Linked DNA regions of Homo sapiens: region 1 is linked to region 2. Evidence: promoter capture Hi-C in 16 types of primary human blood cells and fetal thymus (Javierre and others, 2016). All regions are on one chromosome and are shown on one strand. The core of a region is centred on a gene start or on the middle of the fragment in contact, and the rest is flanking DNA. Distances in the headings are between cores, read along the strand shown. Region 1 overlaps PPARGC1B (PPARG coactivator 1 beta). Region 2 holds the start of SLC6A7 (solute carrier family 6 member 7).

Region 1 (2,700 bases), core at 187-2,686, 340 kb before region 2:
AATGTTTCTTACTTGCTATGTGACCTTGGGCCCCTGTTTCCTCATCTACCAAATGAGAATGTTGAATATGAGCATTAAAGTCCCTTTCACCTCTGAGAGGCTCAGATCCCCAACCAGGAGCATTGGGAATCCATCACTCCTCCTTGAAACTGATTCCATTCTCTGACTTGACCCAGCTCCTGTTCAGGGTGAGGGTTCTCTGCAAGAACCAACCAGCAGTAGGTTCAATCCCACTGTGTCCTGGCTGAGTTGCCTTATCCAAGAAGACCAGCTCCCCGGGACAGATCTAAGCCATAGTTTCTAGTGGGGACAGTAAGGAATTAAACCCCCAACTTGGCTAGGTAACGATGTCAAATCTCACATTAACCTTGTCTTTGTCCCCACTGGATAGCTGTTAATCCGAATGTTGTGACCATTTGGCTGTTTCTCTCTTGTTCTCAGACAATACTAGCAATACACTTTTTTTTTTTTTTTTTAAAGAAAAACAGCTTAGGAGCTTTTCACACATTTCTTTCAAATGATTGTAAAACATATGGGGCAACAGGAGGCATTGATCGCGCTGCATATGTTTAGGGCAGCTTTTGTTTTTTGTTTCTTTAATGGTATAGCAGCAGTGACTGAGCCTTCGTGATTCCTGGGGACAGCTTTTCAGATACTCTGTTTCATCAGTATGCTTTGCACATCCGGAAGGAGTACAAAAATCCAACTGCCCAAATTTGGGGCTTGGAAAATAGGTTTTATAGGTGGTCGGTCCCTGGGCTGTGCAACAACTCCTCAAAGAGGGGTTTATATAACTAGAACCCCCCTGGGCTGTATTTTTGGTCAAAGGAGTCTCCAAGGCGGCTTACAAAAGCTTCCTTTTTCACTTGACCACCCTTGCTCATTGGTTACTTGTGAAGGGAATTGGTCAGTTTCCACCTCAGCACTTTGCCTTATCAACATGCGGTCGCCATCTAGTGGCCAAAGGTTGTCTCCACCAGCTACCCAGATGGAAGGCAAATAAATCCTTTCGGCCACCCTGCTGTCCATCGTGAACTTTGGGAATGAAATATAATGGCCTGAACGAACTGCCTTTGTGTTCAGAGATCAGTGCAACACTAGGGTCAGAAGACTCCAGAAGCAGCCACTTAGTAGACTCTCACGCAGAACTGAGAAATGCACTAGCTGTCCTGTGGGCAGAAGAGACAGGAGTGGACCAGGAGAGGTCCAGGTGCCCGGGAAGGGTTTACTGTAACTGCAATACTGGCAGCCCAGCTGCTGACCTTGTTAAGTAAACCTTTGCTGGGTGGTCCGAATTCTGCCCTCAAGGCAAGATAAGAAGTTGGGTGTAAGGATTTTGTGGGGGGCCTGGCCATGATCTTTGATATGATCCCCGAATAGCCAAATAGTTTTTTTTGTTCAATTTTTTGTTTCTGTATTTTGTATTTTTAAAATCTTGTCAAATGTTTTTGTGTTAGGAATAAAAAGTCATAAACTATTCCCAACTTTGTTTCTTGAGGGATGTTCTGATTCCAATGGAAACAGGTGGGAAATCTCAAGGGGAGCGTGGACAAGGTGGTATGTGCAGCAGGGGAATAGACTGCTTGGATTTCCAAATGGTTTCTGGGGAAGATGACCATCCAGAAGTCCAGCTTAGTGCAGTCTGCTCTGGAATTCACACCCACCCCCTCGCCTCCTTGTGCCATGTTGTTAGCATTGGCTTGGAGCATCTGCTTCTTCCAGAGGCAGCTGCTAATGTTGAAACCAACACGAGCCCTCTCCCCAACCCCAGGTTTCTAAAGAAGGTGTCTGTAGCCAGCCTTAATCAACTGGGCAAGGTGGTCCCTATGGTCCTTTCCAGCATTTCCAAATCTTGGACTCAAATTATTTTCTCTTGGTGTGACCACACAGCCTAGAGAATTCTGAGCAATAGGAGCCAGGGCTTTCCCTGACTCTGCGACAGGGTCAAACCAAGGAATGGCTAAACCTGTGAGGTTTTGTCATCCCCGGGGGTACTACTGTAGGGGGCATTATTTATTAGGAAGCTTAACAAGGTAACTACGGCCTGAGTGCGTGAGTGTAAGGCTGTGTTTGTGGTGGGGGTGTGTGTGTGTGTATCTGTGCACACATACACACGTCTGTGCCTGTGTGTGTGTGTTTGTGTGTGTGTGTGTGTGTGGAATTACATTGATGCATTTATTGAGAAAGGTGCAAGAATTTCACCTACACAGAGGGACACATCTGCTTTGTTATTTATAATAGAAAGCTAAATTTTAATTTTTTAAAGGACACTGCTAATGATTGAGAATCAAGTTTTTAGTTTTGCTATTTTTTTTAATTGGTAGAGGATTTTTATATATTTTTTCCATTTTGTTGGGTTGTGTCCTTATTTATATAAATACTTTATCCGTAAGAGGCAAGGAGGAAACCTTCTTTGCTTTTACATATTGTGGTTGTCATCGTCCCTATTTTATTTCTGGTGTGATTTCTCTGTCTTACCTTCTAAATGAGAAAATGTTTTCTTGTATTTGTACATTGTCAGATTCTATAGTTTCCTAGATAATTTAACCAAATTGCTCTATGTATTATTATTCTGTGAGTATAAAGTTCTATTTTAATGTCTGTAAATACTTCAGAACTGGCTTCTTTTCTCAAACTCCCACTGTGGGGTTATTGTTTACATCACAGAAACTGTAGAATCTCTATGCTCATGTACTGTAA
Region 2 (2,700 bases), core at 159-2,658:
TGGGACAGTTTCCACAGGTGTAAAATGAGATGCACAAACATGTCTTCCCAGACAGTTGGAAAGAATTAAAAATTAGATGTTGGATGCAAAAATCCTTCATAATGCACACAGTAGGGCTCCATAAATGCTCCTTCTCTTCACACTCACAGCCACTCTTGGCCCCATATGGGTCAGCAGGCAGGGGGCAGAGGAGACACCTTCCTCCTGGGTCTGGAGAGCCCCTGGTTTGCCCTTTGTGGCCAGGCTCAAAGGGGAGAGAAGTTTGACAGGACCTGGGCAGGGGAAGGGGTGGACTGGAGCCTGGCCAGGCCTTTACCCAAGTCCATGCTTTGACTTAAACCCCTCCAACCTTTTTTCAAGCTCCAGAGGTGGGAGAGAGCAGAACCTTATTCTCATCTCTCCCCAAAGGCCTCCCACCGTGTCAACTGATAGTGAGCCAAACAGATGTATGGTTAATGTCTAAACTGGGACACTTGCGAGGGTGAAAAGGACACAATTTGTAATGTATATACTGATCCGCTAGTGTCTATCAGTCAGTCCCAGCAAACCAACGTGTGCCATTGCTCCAGCTCATCATTTCCCATCCTAGCCACAGGCTCACTGGACCCTCAGAACATTCTGAGGCAACAATGCATGGGCGGCTCGTGGCCCATTTTACAGATATGAAATTAGAACTTTCCAGAAGCCATACTGCTGCTGGACAGGAAACCAGTTACTAATCATCTAAGTCACAGATCACAGTGACACTGTGGCACTTGCCTGTCCCTTCTGCTCACCCAAACCTCCCCATTTTGCTTTCATCTTAAGGAAAGGAGGAGAGTTGAAGACTCTACTAGCCTAAAGGTCCATGAAGCCTGACTCTGTCCCTGGTGTCACTCATTAGCCCCGTGACTTTGAGTAAGTAACTTAACTTCCCTGTCCCTCAGCTTCCTCATCTGTAGAATAGGAGTAACGACACCTGTCTCTCCAGGTTGAGAAAATAGGACACCTAGTTCAGGACCTGGCACATTTTAGGTGCTCAATAAATACTGATAGATTGAATAATTGGACTAATGGTGGCGTGGGCAACCCACAGTCAGTGAATAAATGTTAACTGAGCACCTACTATGTGTCAGGCTCTTTGTGCTAGATGTTTTCTATGCTCCATCTTCCTGAATTGCTCACACTCCTGTAAGAGAGGAGAGATTCTTATCCCCTAAGGTCGCACAGCAAAGACGACGCAGGGGGGTGGGCTGTTAGTGTTCCTTGCCCAACTGTGGAAAGGGAGTCCCAGAGAGGGCAGGTCGCTTGCCCAAGGTCACGCAGAAAGCCGAGGGTTTCCGTCGCGAACCCCCCTCCCCACTCGCTCAGGGCTCTCCAATCCGCAGCTCTGCGTGCGGGGGCGCGCGCATCCCCCCGCCGTCCGTCCGTCAGCTGTCTGTCTGGGTGTCTATGCGGGCGCAGCAGTGCACCCTTCCCCAGCCTCGGGCGCTGCGCAGGGACAGACAAGGCATTCGCAGCGCCCTGCCCGCGCTCCACGCCCGCAGCCGCCAGACGGCAGCGCCTGCGTCCGTGCCCGCCCCAGCCGGTGCGCGGGAGCCGCGGGGGCAAAGGCGCAGTGGCCAGCGGACCATCTCTCGTGCCCTCGCTCTCTGCGCTCCGGGGCAGCTGAGCCCCGGCCACCCGCTCTCCAAGATGAAGAAGCTCCAGGGAGCTCACCTCCGCAAGGTAGGGCACGAGGGCGGGGGCGCTGGGGGTGCACCTGGAGGAGGGTTGGAGAGACCCGCCCCCAACGAGGCCCCTGGGGAAGGTCTGAGGATGCACCCAGACCAGCTTCGGGCTCTGGGGAAGGCCCGACTCAGCTGGATAACAGGGAGGGTCAGGGTCACGGTCTGCGCCCCCACCTCTGCCCCTGCCATCTGGGGTTCGGGATGTAGTATGAGGGGAGTCCTGGTTCACTGGGCCAGGCCTATGAACAGGTGTCTGCAGTCCCCGGAGGCGCGGGGTAGGGGCGGCCGGGGCCAGGCACCCACCTCTTCCCCAATTCCACCCTGCTGCTCCCCGCCAGGAGCTGATTGCCGGGTGTGGGGGGTATTGGAATACCTGAGCGTTGAGCTGGACTCATCTGAGGGGTGGGGAGTGGGAGGCGGTCATCCATACTGAAGCCGGCTCCCTGAGCCTGCGGGAAGACTCTCCTCTTTCCTGCCTGCTCCCTCCCCGCCCCCTTAGCTTGCCTGCTGAGACCCCAGGCTGCCCCTCAGCAGGGCTGAAGGGAGGCAAAGACAGGGAGGGGGCTATCGGAGGCAGGAGGATATGATCAATGAAGATGGAAGCTGGTATGGGAGAGTGGCTGTGGGCCCAGACCTCAGGCTCTCCCTACCTTGCCTTGTGGGATTGGACCTCTCAGCCAAGCTGTCAGGATATGGGGAGGGGGAATACTGGGGGACGTTTTCTGGCTTGTACCAGTCCTAACTAAGGAGTCAGATCTCCTGAATACTATTTCTGCCGCTGCCACTTGCCTGGTGACTTTGGACAAGTTCATTCTCTAACCTGAACCTCCTCTGGCTAAGCCCTAGCCTGGAGGCACCAAAACAGGCCCCACTGGGTGTGTGAGGTGTGGGGAAGAATGCTAAAGGGCTGGTAGATGTGAGAAGACTGTTCTCAGGGGCTGGTGTTATCAACCTCCCTACATACACACACATTCACACTCACACTCACTCA

Evidence for each region. The method cuts DNA at HindIII sites, captures the fragments that hold promoters and counts their contacts. A CHiCAGO score of 5 or more calls a contact.
Region 1: a contact is called between a fragment that was not itself captured here and the fragment with the promoter of SLC6A7 in region 2, in 1 of 17 cell types (endothelial precursors). The highest score is 5.4, in endothelial precursors.

The regions. Positions count from the first base shown.
Region 1 is chr5:149,852,250-149,854,949 of GRCh38, forward strand. PPARGC1B (PPARG coactivator 1 beta) reads left to right here. Exons shown (of 12, transcript NM_133263.4): 12 at 1-2,700. Among named protein-coding and RNA genes, the nearest start is that of PDE6A, 91 kb to the right of the region's middle. The HindIII fragment of the contact is 1,171 bases long and covers 852-2,022 here.
Region 2 is chr5:150,188,654-150,191,353 of GRCh38, forward strand. SLC6A7 (solute carrier family 6 member 7) reads left to right here and starts at 1,409. Exons shown (of 14, transcript NM_014228.5): 1 at 1,409-1,707. The coding sequence starts at 1,675. The HindIII fragment of the contact is 12,060 bases long and covers 1-2,700 here.